Regions from separate parts of the Homo sapiens genome. Here all the other regions are linked to region 1. Evidence: promoter capture Hi-C in 16 types of primary human blood cells and fetal thymus (Javierre and others, 2016). All regions are on one chromosome and are shown on one strand. The core of a region is centred on a gene start or on the middle of the fragment in contact, and the rest is flanking DNA. Distances in the headings are between cores, read along the strand shown. Region 1 holds the start of MED22 (mediator complex subunit 22). Region 2 has its middle 10 kb from the start of GBGT1. Region 3 holds the start of LOC102723855 (a long non-coding RNA gene).

What was found. Contacts are between HindIII fragments. The CHiCAGO score rates a contact against its expected background, and 5 or more counts as called.
Region 2: a fragment that was not itself captured here is called in contact with the fragment with the promoter of MED22 in region 1 in 1 of 17 cell types (erythroblasts); the score reaches 6.4 in erythroblasts.
Region 3: a contact is called between a fragment that was not itself captured here and the fragment with the promoter of MED22 in region 1, in 1 of 17 cell types (endothelial precursors). The highest score is 5.3, in endothelial precursors.

What each region holds. Positions count from the first base shown.
Region 1 is chr9:133,346,473-133,350,537 of GRCh38, forward strand. It overlaps MED22 (mediator complex subunit 22), which reads right to left and starts at 1,659. Exons shown (of 5, transcript NM_133640.5): 1 at 1,450-1,659; 2 at 68-228. The coding sequence starts at 190. RPL7A (ribosomal protein L7a) reads left to right here and starts at 1,746. Exons shown (of 8, transcript NM_000972.3): 1 at 1,746-1,774; 2 at 2,450-2,570; 3 at 3,079-3,228; 4 at 3,440-3,580; 5 at 3,768-3,847. The coding sequence starts at 1,772. SNORD24 (small nucleolar RNA, C/D box 24) reads left to right here and starts at 2,924; the gene lies at 2,924-2,998. SNORD36B (small nucleolar RNA, C/D box 36B) reads left to right here and starts at 3,622; the gene lies at 3,622-3,692. It also overlaps SNORD36A. RefSeq lists enhancers at 1-237, 1,542-1,836, 1,698-2,167. The HindIII fragment of the contact is 16,795 bases long and covers 1-4,065 here.
Region 2 is chr9:133,172,289-133,176,353 of GRCh38, forward strand. No RefSeq gene overlaps it. Among named protein-coding and RNA genes, the nearest start is that of GBGT1, 10 kb to the left of the region's middle. The HindIII fragment of the contact is 577 bases long and covers 1,700-2,276 here.
Region 3 is chr9:133,491,022-133,495,086 of GRCh38, forward strand. LOC102723855 (a long non-coding RNA gene) reads left to right here and starts at 690. Exons shown (of 3, transcript XR_428608.4): 1 at 690-4,065. The HindIII fragment of the contact is 3,026 bases long and covers 752-3,777 here.

The DNA of each region.
Region 1 (4,065 bases), core at 409-2,908:
CCCTGGCCTCTCCTGTCTCCACCCCTTCTCAGACTCTGCTCCCCTTGGTGGGCCACCCCACCCCCACCTTGGCGGTCTTGATGATCTCGGTGAAGTTGTCCATGATGGACTTAATGTCGTCCTTCAGCCGCTTGTTGTAGGACTGCAGCAGCGTCTCCTTGCTCTGGGGCAGGGCTCTCTGCTGGGCCATGGCCGAGCCTCAAGCAGCGCAGCGGGGAGACCTGGGACCTAGAGTGCAGCACAGACCTCTGAGTGCAGGCAGAGTCTACCCCAGCCACCCTCTATGCCCCAACCTTAGCAGAACACGCAGATTTCTGGGGATTCCCTTTCTGCCAAATAAAGTCAATCACTGAAACACAGATGAACTCATTCCATCAGCAGACACCGCAGGGGGTGCCAGGACTGGCCCCGCCTTTGCCAGAGCAAGCTCATCCTGGAACTCCTGGCCAGCCCTCCAAGCCCTGTCCAGGGCTCCAGTCCAGACTTCACGTCCAGGCCCACAGCGTGTCCCAGGGAGCCCTGCAAACTCAACACCAGCTCCCCGTCCCCAGCCCTTGGCTTAACTTCTTAGCCCGCCGCCACCTTCGCCACGCCCTCCCATCCGAAGAGTCCTTCCAATTCGACCCCTCTGCACCGCCTACATCCACGCTTTCCTTCCACTCCCACTCAGGCTGCCCCGCTCCAGACCTCATCCCTGCACTGCGGGCCCCGCTCCCTCCAGTCTCTGCGCGGCAGGGAAGAGGTCCTAAAAAGTGGTCATTCCAACCGGGCGCGGTGGCTCACGCCTGTAATCCCAGCACTTTGGGAGGCCGAGGCAGGGATCACCTGAGGTCAGGAGTTTGAGACTAGCCTGACCAACATGGTGAAACCCCAACTCTACTAAAAATACAAAAATTAGCCGGGCGTGATGGCAGGCGCCTGTAATCCCAGCTACTCGGGAGGCTGAGGCAGGAGAATCGCTTGAACCCGGGAAGCACAGGTCGCAGTGAGCCGAGATCGCGCCACTGCACTCCAGCCTGGGCGACAGGGGGAGACTACGTCTCCAAAAGAAAAAAAAAAGGGGGGTAATTCCACTCCCTCGCTTAACATCCCTCATGGTTCCCCGGTGCGCCGGGACAAGGGGCTCAAGTTCCGCGCCGCGCCTCTCGGCCTCTGCCCTCCAGCCGCACTGGACGGCCTCGGCGCTGGAGTTGCCTGGCCCTGGGGCCGGGCCTTTGCGCGCGGTGCTCAGGGAGGGCCCGGGGCCCCCTAGGTTCGGAGTCTGGCGCACGACCGAGCGGACTCCTGGACGCACTCGCATTGTTTGTGCCCATTTTTGGCGGGGTGTGGGAAATAAGTCACACGCAGGAAAGGGGATCTCCGACCCCAGCGCCTACGCACCCACCCACCCCCACTCCCGCCCACACACCCACCCCCCCTCCATCCCCACCCCCCACCACACCCTCATACCCGCCCCAGCGCCCGCACACCAGACGCCGCGTCCGCCGGGTCGGCCTAGGGCGGGGTGGTCAAGTGCCTCTGCGACCCGCACTTTCCCGCGTCTCTCCCACGGCCTGGCCCTCCCGCCGCAGTCTCTCTTCCCCGCCGCGCCGCGGTCCGAAAACCTAGTCAGCCGCCGCAGCCTCTCGGCCCCGCCTCGATTTTTAGCTTTATAGGAATGCTGTTGCTTTAAATCCGAAATCCCGTGCCGGTATCAACTCTCGCGATCTCCGAGGCCGCATACATATTACCCACAATTCCCTTTCCTTTCTCTCTCCTCCCGCCGCCCAAGATGGTGAGTGAGCTGTAGTTCCGTGGCACTATAGCCAGGTTCCGGCTGTATCCGCTGCCATCCTCCTCCAGGCGCGGCCTCGGAGGGCCTCCTGCTCCTCCTGGCGCTAGGAGAGCCCCACTCGGTGTGGCACGGAGACACCGAGGTGGATTAGAGCCCCACTTGGTGTGGCACGGAGACATTGAGATGGACTAGAGCCCCGGGCGGCCGAGAGCGGAATGCGTTGTTCCCGGTGTCGCAGGGCTGGGTGTCGCAGGCCTGGAGCACCGCAGTGCGGGGCTCGGAGCCCTAGCGTCTCTCGGGCTTGCTGGGGGCCGCTCCAGAGGCCTTGTGAGCGACGAGTTCTGAGCCCGCCCCTGTTGCTTCTAGAGCCTGTGGGGCCGCGACTCAGAGGAGTCATGAGTCCGGGGTGTCTCCTGGGTGGGCGACGCGAAGAGAGCGTGGTCTCGGGCTTAGCCTTGCTCTGGCCACTCGGGGTTCCCGGGGCTGCATGCTTGTGCGGCTGAATGTGAGATGCTCCTGTCGAGGGGTGGTGCTGGGGGGTTGCAGAAAGCTGCTCGCCAGCTTAGTTCAGGCAGGTGCTGTCAGCGTCCCTTGTTTTGGAGGAGCCAGCCTGAGCCCTACCCCCGACGAAGCGAGTGGAGGCGGCGGTTTAACTGACGTTTTCTTTCTGCCCAGCCGAAAGGAAAGAAGGCCAAGGGAAAGAAGGTGGCTCCGGCCCCAGCTGTCGTGAAGAAGCAGGAGGCTAAGAAAGTGGTGAATCCCCTGTTTGAGAAAAGGCCTAAGAATTTTGGCATTGGTAAGTAACAAACGGCAGAATGAAAACGGTCTATGTTTTTCTCAAGGGAAGGTGGTAATTGGGTTGTGTTGTATCTTGTAGGTTTTAGTGGGTGTAAAGTGGTCGCAGTCCTTAATTTGTGTCTCTTAGAGACGGGGGCAATGATACATGCTTCTTGCTTTCATTGGGAGTTGCTGAGCGAGCATTCAGCTCAATATGGTAGTGGCCTTGAATTCAGCTTAGCCATCTGGAAACAAGTACAGTAGCAGTGTCGCAGCGAGGTACTAGGACTGCAATTCTGCTGTACTTCGTGGCACCTTGGCTTCTTGTTAGATGAGGAAAAGCATCGTGCTCTTTGTTCTCAGGTGTTTGTGTGCAGATGATGTAAAAGAATATTTGCTATCTGAGAGATGGTGATGACATTTTAAACCACCAAGATCGCTGATGCACCAACACCCTTCCTAGTGGCCCCAGACATGAACTTGACATGGAATTTGAGCCTCACTCGGTGTCACCCTTTACTTCTCAGGACAGGACATCCAGCCCAAAAGAGACCTCACCCGCTTTGTGAAATGGCCCCGCTATATCAGGTTGCAGCGGCAGAGAGCCATCCTCTATAAGCGGCTGAAAGTGCCTCCTGCGATTAACCAGTTCACCCAGGCCCTGGACCGCCAAACAGGTGAGGTTCTGTGGCGTGGAAAGGAGTTTCTCAGGCAAGGATTCCTTATTTCATCCAGAACATGAGGGGGATGGTCTTAGGCTTCTTGAACTGCAGTTGTCATTAAATTATAGTCATATAGCAGGACCGCAGTCCAGCATTTGTTATTAAGTGTTAAGTGACAAGGATTAGAACCTTGACTCCAAGCCTAAACTGAAGAGTGTTTTTCCAGCTACTCAGCTGCTTAAGCTGGCCCACAAGTACAGACCAGAGACAAAGCAAGAGAAGAAGCAGAGACTGTTGGCCCGGGCCGAGAAGAAGGCTGCTGGCAAAGGGGACGTCCCAACGAAGAGACCACCTGTCCTTCGAGCAGGTGAGTAGGCCCCACCTTAGGGTGAACACTGGGGGCGGGCTGTTGCAGTGATGTAAAATTTCTTGGCCTGAAATTACTGTGAAGAGTAAAACCGAGCTTTTTAACACTGAGTCAGCAGCTGAGCCCAGCAGCTTCTTGTGACTAGAGCAGGCCCTGTGAGTGCTCACAAAGTGGTTGTGTGTTCTAGGAGTTAACACCGTCACCACCTTGGTGGAGAACAAGAAAGCTCAGCTGGTGGTGATTGCACACGACGTGGATCCCATCGAGGTGCGTTTGCCTGTTGACTGCTAACCCAAGGGCTTCTGGCAGTACCAGGAAGAGAGAGTAGACCTAATGCCAAGTCAGTGATGGGACCGAAGTGGGTGAGGGCAGTACTGACACAGATCCAACACATGCGTGGCTCTTGCAATGATGTGAATCTCTCACTGAATTCAACCTTGAAGTGCGAATCCATGAGCTTTTTAACCCTGAGCAATTGTTACAAG
Region 2 (4,065 bases), core at 738-3,237, 170 kb before region 1:
ACACAGCAAGCCACTGCCAAGGGAGACCCTGGCGGAGTCAGATCACTTAGCAATGGAAGAAGAGACAACTGACAAAAAAGATAATGTGACAGACGGTTTCAAAGAGAACAATTTAAGCACTAGAAGATTTACGAACCCTTAGGAAAATTAATGAGGCCCTAGAAGATTTCTGCTGATACGCTATAATTTTGTCGTAAAAATTGTGTCACACGTACCTAATCTACTGTGGACTTATTTATTCATTGTTGTTTCTAAAACTCAGTGTATACTTGCTATTATAGCTTCCTTTTCTGGGGGAGGGGGGTTGGGACAGAGTTTTTCTCTGTCACCCAGGCTGGAGTGCAGTGGCATGATCTCAGCTCACTGCAACCTCTGCCTGTCAGGTTCAAGCGATTCTCAGCCTCAGTCTCCCCAGTAGCTGGGATTACAGGTGCCCACCACCACGCCCAGCTAATTTTTGTATTTTCAGTAGGGACGGAGTTTCTCCATATTGGCCAGGCTGGTCTCAAACTCCTGACCTCAGGTCATCCGCCCGCCACAGCCTCCCAAAGTGCTGCGATTACATGCGTGAGCCACTGCACTGGGCCACATTTTGTTAAATATACATTTGGCTGGACATGGTGGCTCACACTTGTAATCCCAGCACTTTGGGAGGCCGAAGTGAGCAGATTCCTTGAAGCCAGGAGTTCAAGACCAGCCTGGGCAACATGGAGAAACCCCGTTTCTACAAAAAATACAAAAATACAAAAATTAACTGGGTGTGGTGGTGTGTGCCTGTAGTCCCAGCTACTTGGGAGTCTAAGGTGGGAGGATTGCTTGAGCCAGGGAGGGAGAGAATGCAGTGAGATTGCACCATTGCACTTCAGCCTGGACAACAGAGTGAGACCCTGTCTTAAAGCAAACAAGCAAACAAAAAAGGCTACATTTATTTTTCATATTTTTATTTCATTTTTCAAGATCAAGTGCCAAGTAGGCCTTTTCTCCATTATTTCTTTCAAATACAGGACTCTCTTTTAATAAAATGGCCAATTCCCGGTGCTCATCATCCCTGCTAACCCCATGGACCGTCCCTGCACGTCACAGAGTGGGCGTGAGCTCCACGTGGGGAGTGACCTCATCGGATCACGCTCACTGAGGCACACAGCTGGGCACACAGCAGGACCAGAGAATATTTGCTGAATGAGTGAATGCATCAGGAAGCTATGGTGCTGGTGTTACCAGCTGTTAAAACTTCAGACAAGTTAAATTTGATGGAGTTTAATTGGAAAAAAATAAAAAAGAAATGATTCACAAATCGGGCAGCCTCCAGAATCACAGCAGATTCAGAGACTCTGGGGGTTCCTCGTGGTCAGAACAAATTTATAGACAAAAAAGTAAAGTGATGTACAGGAATTGGAAATGAAGTACAGAAACAGAGATTGGTTGCATCTCGGCGTTTGCCTTAGTTGAACACAGTTTAAACACTCAGCAGTCTATGAGTGGTTGAAGTATGGCCGCTGGGATTGGCCAACACTCAGCCATTGTTATAGGTGCATACTACTAAGTTGGGTTTTCCATCTTGTCTGCCTATTAAGCCAGCTTATGGTTCATCCACAAGGACTCAAATAGAGAGGTAGGGAGTCCCTTCTTAGGCCATATTTAGTTTGCTTTAACAATTCCCCTCTTTTGGTCAGCCTCTCAATTTAGAGAGATTGACCGAAGCTTTAGGCATTGATGCCACTCTCTGTCACCATCCTAAAGACTTATTTGGTCTCAGTGTGGAATTCACAAGTCTTCTTTAGTTTCAGTATGGAGTCTCACACATCTTCTTTGGTGTTAACATGGAATTCACAAGTTGCAGCTTTGTACCAGCTAAATGATTCTTTATGTTCTTTTTGACCTGGTTGGAATGAGACCATTCAACTCTCAATGGATGGCTGCATACAAAACATTTAAGACTTGAGAGGATACAGTGTATCAGGGTGACGATTATTATGACTATCAAGAGGATACTATCAAAATGCCAAGGCGTACTCCTTAATGAGAGTTCTTATGAAATGAACCGAACCAAATTAGCCAAGTGAAGGTTCAGACAATATAGGCAGTTCAACAGTGTTAGGGTCCAATTGGTCATTATCCTCGTTTAGAGTATGATAGCGATTAAGGACCATGGTTTGCTGTAAAGTGGCCTGACTTAAACAGTTACTCATTTTCATTGTTACATTGGTAATACAAGTCATAATAACTTGGAAACCTACTAGAAGAATTATAAGGATTAGAAGCCCTTGGAAAACCCAAGCTTGCCATCCACCCTTAGGATGCCTGCAAACCGTTAGTTGCCTATTGTAAACATGTCATGGGCTCCTTTCTCTTGAGAGATGTCTTTAATGTATTTGGTGGCAGTGTCTAAGGAAACAGCAGTATCAGCACCTTTTAAATTAAGCTTCCTGTAATAACAAAATCAGGTAAGAGATAAGTAGTACAACATTCAGTTTTGTTTAACACCAAACCTAGGCTTCCAGCTTGAGCAAAAAGATCTGAGGTTGCACGATGTTCCAGTAAGTGTTTTTGCTGAATTCACGTGTTGTCATCTATCTTTTTTTTTTTTGAGATGGAGTCTCACTCTGTTGCCCAGGCTGGAGTGCAATGGCATTATCTTGGCTCACTGCAACCACCGCCTCCTGGGTTCAAGCGATTCTACTGCCTCAGCCTCCCAAGTAGCTGGGATTACAGGCATGAGCCACCATGCCTGGCTAATTTTTGTATTTTTAGTAGAGATGGGGTTTCACCATGTTGGCCAGGCTGGTCTCAAACTTCTGACCTCAAGAGATCTGCCCGCCTTGGCCTCCCAAATGCCGGGATTACAGGCGTGAGCCACCATGCCCAGCCCTGTCATCTATCTTTCTGAGAGCAGCTTCTACCCATCTGAAACCCTGGGAGGTCTGATTGATTACAAAATCCAAGATTTTTCCCAATTTACAAATTAGCTTTAAATTCCATACAACTGCTATCTCACTACCACCAAGAGTGCACCCCCAGGAATCCCACTGGAATCTTTCCTCAGTAGAAACGAGCTTATCCTCAAATATTTCAAGGCTAGTGCTAATTTCAGTTATTGATCATTTTGGCCTCCAATCATAAGGGCCATCATGAGAATTTTCAGGGGAAGCTATTTGAAAGGCAGGAGCAAGCCAGGCCACATAACAAGAACCCAACCAATGAGGAGGCAGAACAGGATACGCAGACTCTTCACAGACCCAGTATAGACCCTTGGGGATTGGAAAAGAGGGCCACCTAGTTGCATTTGAGCAGAGATCAGTCAGGTTTGTTCGACCACAAATCTGCATACCTCCTGAACAACGTCCAGTGGGAAATTTACTTTTCTGTGGCCCCTTTATAGCATGTTGTAAGGGTATATAACCATATCTAGTAAAAAAGAGACCCTACTGGATTTAATCCAGTTACATTATACAAGCAATCACTTGTATCAACATAAGTAATTCCCAAATCTTGAGTGCGTGATGTCTGGAAGCACAATGTATCTTTTGCTGGCATCACTTGGATTTTTTTTTTTGAGACGAAGTTTCGCTCTTGTTGCCCAGGCTGGAGTGGAGTGTAATGGCACGATCTTGGCTCACTGCAACCTCTGCCTCCCAGGTTCAAGTGATTCTCCTACCTCAGCCTCCCCAGTAGCTGGGATTATAGGCGCCTACCACCATGCCTGGCTAATTTTTGTATTTTTAGTAGAGATGGGGTTTTACCATGTTGGCCAGGCTGGTCTCAAACTCCTGACCTCAGTTGATCCACCTGCCTCAGCCTCCCAAAGTGCTGGGATTACAGACATGAGCCACTGCACCCAGCCTTGGATTGTTTTTTTATATTTGGTAATGATCGACTTATCAATTGAAAAAGTTAGAGTGTTGTTTTTAGTGAGTGTAGGAAGCAAGTAGCAGTGATGTTTAGCATATCAAGAATAACTTTCTGTTCTTCCCTTAGTTTCAGGTAGCTCTCGCTGGGAACGCGGAGGGGCACTGGCACCAGTGGAATCATTTCCTGATTTTTTTTTGGCATTAGCCCACAAACCCA
Region 3 (4,065 bases), core at 1,015-3,514, 150 kb after region 1:
CAGTGAGAAGGAGAAGCTGGAGGGGGAGGAGGAAAAGCTGGAGGATGAGGGGGAGGAGGAGTTGGAGGAGGAGGGGGAAGGAGGAGCTAGAGGGAGAGGAGGGGGAGGAGGAGGGGAGGAGGAACTGGAGGAGGACTTGGAGGAGGAGGGAGGGAGGAGGACAGCCTGGGTGGGAAGTTGCACTTGGCCCAGCTCCCAGAGAGGTGGGTGGCTTTAGGTCATGCGTTCATCTGAGACCTAGTACAACCTAGGACCCTGGGGCCCTGTGCCGGTCACTGTGCCTCTTCCAGCCTCGGTATCCTCTGGAAGGTGAGAATGAAAAACACCCAATGACACTCAGACTGGACAGGAGCAGGTACGCAGACAGCAGATGGCCAGGTGCACAGAGGTGTCGCCTGACTTCCTCACCGGGACGGCATGGGGTGGGGCTCCTCCTGCAGGCGAAGCCCGCCCGGGACTGGGCTCTGGTGGGTTCTCTCTCTTTTCCTTCAACCAAAGACCTGGCTGGACACCCCCCATCTGACACTCCGGGGGCTTTCAAGGGGCTTCAGGCAACCCACATGCATTCTGGGCATCCCATTTAGGGGGATGAAGAAGGAATTGGATAAGGCAAGGGTGGGGCTGGCCCGTCTCCTCTGCTGGTGCATCAGCCCCTCCTAGGGACACCACTGTCCTTGACCCCTCTGCAGGCCAATCAGCCCTCCTTGGGAAGCCGCCGTCCTTGCCCGCTCTGCTCCTGGGGTCCCACCCAAGCTTCAATCCTCGCTGTGTGGTCTTCCCTCCGTGAGCCTTCATTTCCTCATCGGTAAAATGGGGGAGAGGAGAGCGCGGGGGTCAGCCCTGAGCCTGGCTGGTTGGCTACTTAATGGGCTTCTGGTACCTTGACCACCATCTTTGACAGCCTCAGTTTACAGATGAGGCCCTGAGGCCTGGAGGAAAGGATTAGGCTGCCTGGGATGTGGGTGAGAGGTCTGATTCTGACCCGGTGAAGTGAGCTCCTGTCCCCTCTGGGGTTCCCCAGCAGGCATTAAGGGAGGGGTCAGACGAGGTCCCCCTACCGTGGCCAGATGTGCAGCGACCTTGGGCTGTAACCTCAGGGGGTTCGCGCCCCCCACAGCCTGCTGGGGACTGACCAGGCCTGGGGGAGACTGGGGGAGCGAGGGGCTGGGAGGGAATACCACCTGGCCGGACGAGGCCCACACCGCCCTGCCAGCCTGGCATCTCTGCTCTCCCAGGCTCAGCCAACACCCGCTCTAGGACTCAGCCAACTATTTGTGGGCTGCTAAGTAGCATGACAGCTGCTTTTCTTGCTAAAGTATGACATTACATTTTTCCGGATGGCCGGGCACTTCCTGGCCTGAAGTGTGCTAAGTGACAGCCTCACTCTGTCCCGCTGCCCCCCGAGTCCCTGCCCGCCTCCCTGCTTTGTCCAGGCTGGCTTGCAGGGCCAGGCCGAGACCCGTCCTGGCCTGTGTTCAGACAGAGCCTAGTACGGGCCCCCAGGGCTGCAGGTGGCCCAGGAAACTTCCCCGGGGTTATTTTTGGCCTCTGTGCTGGCCCATGGACTCCCTGCCAAAAGCAATTACTGAATTTTCATCTTGTTTTGCTGATGGTTTAGACTATGTCAAAAATGTTCCACTGGAAGGCCTGAGGGCACCTCGGGCTGGGGGATGTGGGGCTCGGGAGCCCAGCTGTGGCCGGGTCCCCGGAATAGATCTCTGGGGTTGCTGGCGAGAAGAAGGAGGACAGGGGAGCCGGGGCCTGTTTGTTTGTAGCTGCCACTGGGTGCTTCCCACACGCACAGCGTGCTCGGCTGGTGGTCATGCTCCCTGCGCCCTCTGCCAGCTGTGCGTGTCCTTCTCTCCCACTTTACAGAAGAAGAAACAGGTTCAGGGAAAGGGCCGAGGGCATGCCCAGGCTGCACTCTGTTCTGTGGGCTGCCGCACTTCCAGCGCAGAAGGATTTCCCTGGCTCAGGGGTGGCAGGGACTGGGGGCTGGGGAGGCCACGGGGAACAAGGCAGGGTCTGCCCAGGCCCTCTTCTCACTGCCCGGGGCGAGGGGTGTCCGAACCAATCAGATCTTTCCTAAGTTAAATGTCTGTGTTGCGGGCTTCGGCTACTCTGTTCATCCTCCTGGGAATTGCCCAAATGGCAGCCAGGTGGATGCAGGAGAAGGTTGGAGGGAAGGCTGGAAATCAGAGGGGGCCGCCCTCAGGCTTCTGTCCATCTGCAGGGGCCCCACTGGCAAGCAGCACCTCTCCAGAACTCTGTGTCCCTTCCTCTCCCCTCCGCAGCAGCCCTGGGAGGCAGATGCTGCCATGAAACCACGGTGCCCTCAAGAAACCTGGCCATGAGGGGGCTTCCTGCCTGCCCACGGCCCTGCAGGTCATGGTAAGGGGTGGTCCTGGAGTTTGTGCCCTGGCACTTCCATTCCAGAGTCACTGCCAGGACCTTAAGCCTGGAGCTCCCCAGGCTGCATGGCAGTGGCTTGCTATGCAGGCCATGGCTGGGGTGAAGGGTGCCTGGGGCGAGGGGACATGTCACTTGGGGCCCTGGGTTGCCTGGCCTGCTGGGGGCCCCCTTGTTGCTCAGCTGCTGTCCTGGGGTCACGGCTCTCGGCCACTCTGCTCACTTGCAGTTCCTGGGAGCCTGTGGACATCGTGTTCTCGAGCCTGAAGGACCAGCAGGGCCCTGGGTGAACGGGGCGGTCCAGGGCCAGGGCCTGTGCTCACACTCCTGCGTGCATTCCCACGCTTCAGCAAAGCAATGCCGCCTCCTATCTGACAGGCTCAGGGTGGCCCTTCGTGGGTATTGTCACCACATTCGCTTGTGCATCAGACGCTTTTTGAGGAAGCTCAGGCCCAGCTTCATACCAGGCACTGGGATGGGGGTCAGCCCTGCCTTGAGGGCTGACCAGTTCCAGAGGGGAGACACACTGAAAACCATCACACCCTCGGCAGGCTGGGGCAGGGCAGAGGGGCACAGGCACCAAGACACAGGAGAGCCAGGTCAGGGCAGAGGGGCACAGGTCCCCGGACACAGGAGAGCCGGGGCAGGGCAGAGGGGCACAGGACTCGGGACATAGGAGAGCCGGGGCAGGGCAGAGGGGCACAGGCCCCCAGACACAGGAGAGCCGGGGCAGGTCAGAGGGGCACAGGACCCGGGACATGGGAGAGCGGGGACAGGCTGCTTCCTGGAGGAGGTGATGCCTGAGCTCAGTGAAAAAACACATGTGTGGGGCCAGCCAGGGGATCGGGTTATGCAGGGCGAGGCTGCCCCAGGTACTTGGGAGGGAGGTGGCCCTGGGTGGGTGTTGGGGCCGTTGGCGGCAGGTGCATCTGCCCTGGTGTCTGCCAAGGCAGAGCCCAGACTGGACGGCTCAGCGCTGGCCTGGGTGTGGGCGACGCTTGCAGGGGCCGTGTGGGTGTCTGCGTGTGAGTGCCCATTGTGAGTCTCGTGTACCTGTGTTCACATGGCTAGGGTCCGGCTTCCAGCTGGTCCTGTCGCCCTGGGATGCCACACGTATTGTAATTACATCTGGGATTTCAGGGGGAGGAGGAGATGGGGTGCCTGCATGCCTCCTAAAATGTTTGAAGGCCTTATATTGGAAGAATGGGAATGTCTGCCTGAGGGGCTTGCCCATATCGACAGAGAAGCCCGCCTCCTCCTGCAGATAAGGAGTGGGGTTTGCTTCTTGCGCATGGAGGATGGGTACAGGGCTCTGCTGTCCTGAAACGGACAGGCCTGCCAGCTCAGTTGATAGAGAGGGGGCTGGAAAGCTTGCCCGGGTGTCCCGCCCCCATGGCTGGGACACGAACTGGCCTTGAACCCACCCAGCCCCGGCCTCCCCTGCGTCCCCCAGGCTGGCGGCCTCACTCTGTGGCTGTGGGGCCTTTTCCCTTCCAGCTCCTGGCCCTGTTTTCCTGGGTCTTGTATGGGCGGGGGCCTTATGAATGTACCATCCAAGTAGAAAAGATGGGCTCACCACATGAACGCAGCTTCCAGACACCTCCAGCTGTGTCTCCCCAGGACCCTTCCATGGAGGTCTGACAGCCCTGGCCCAGG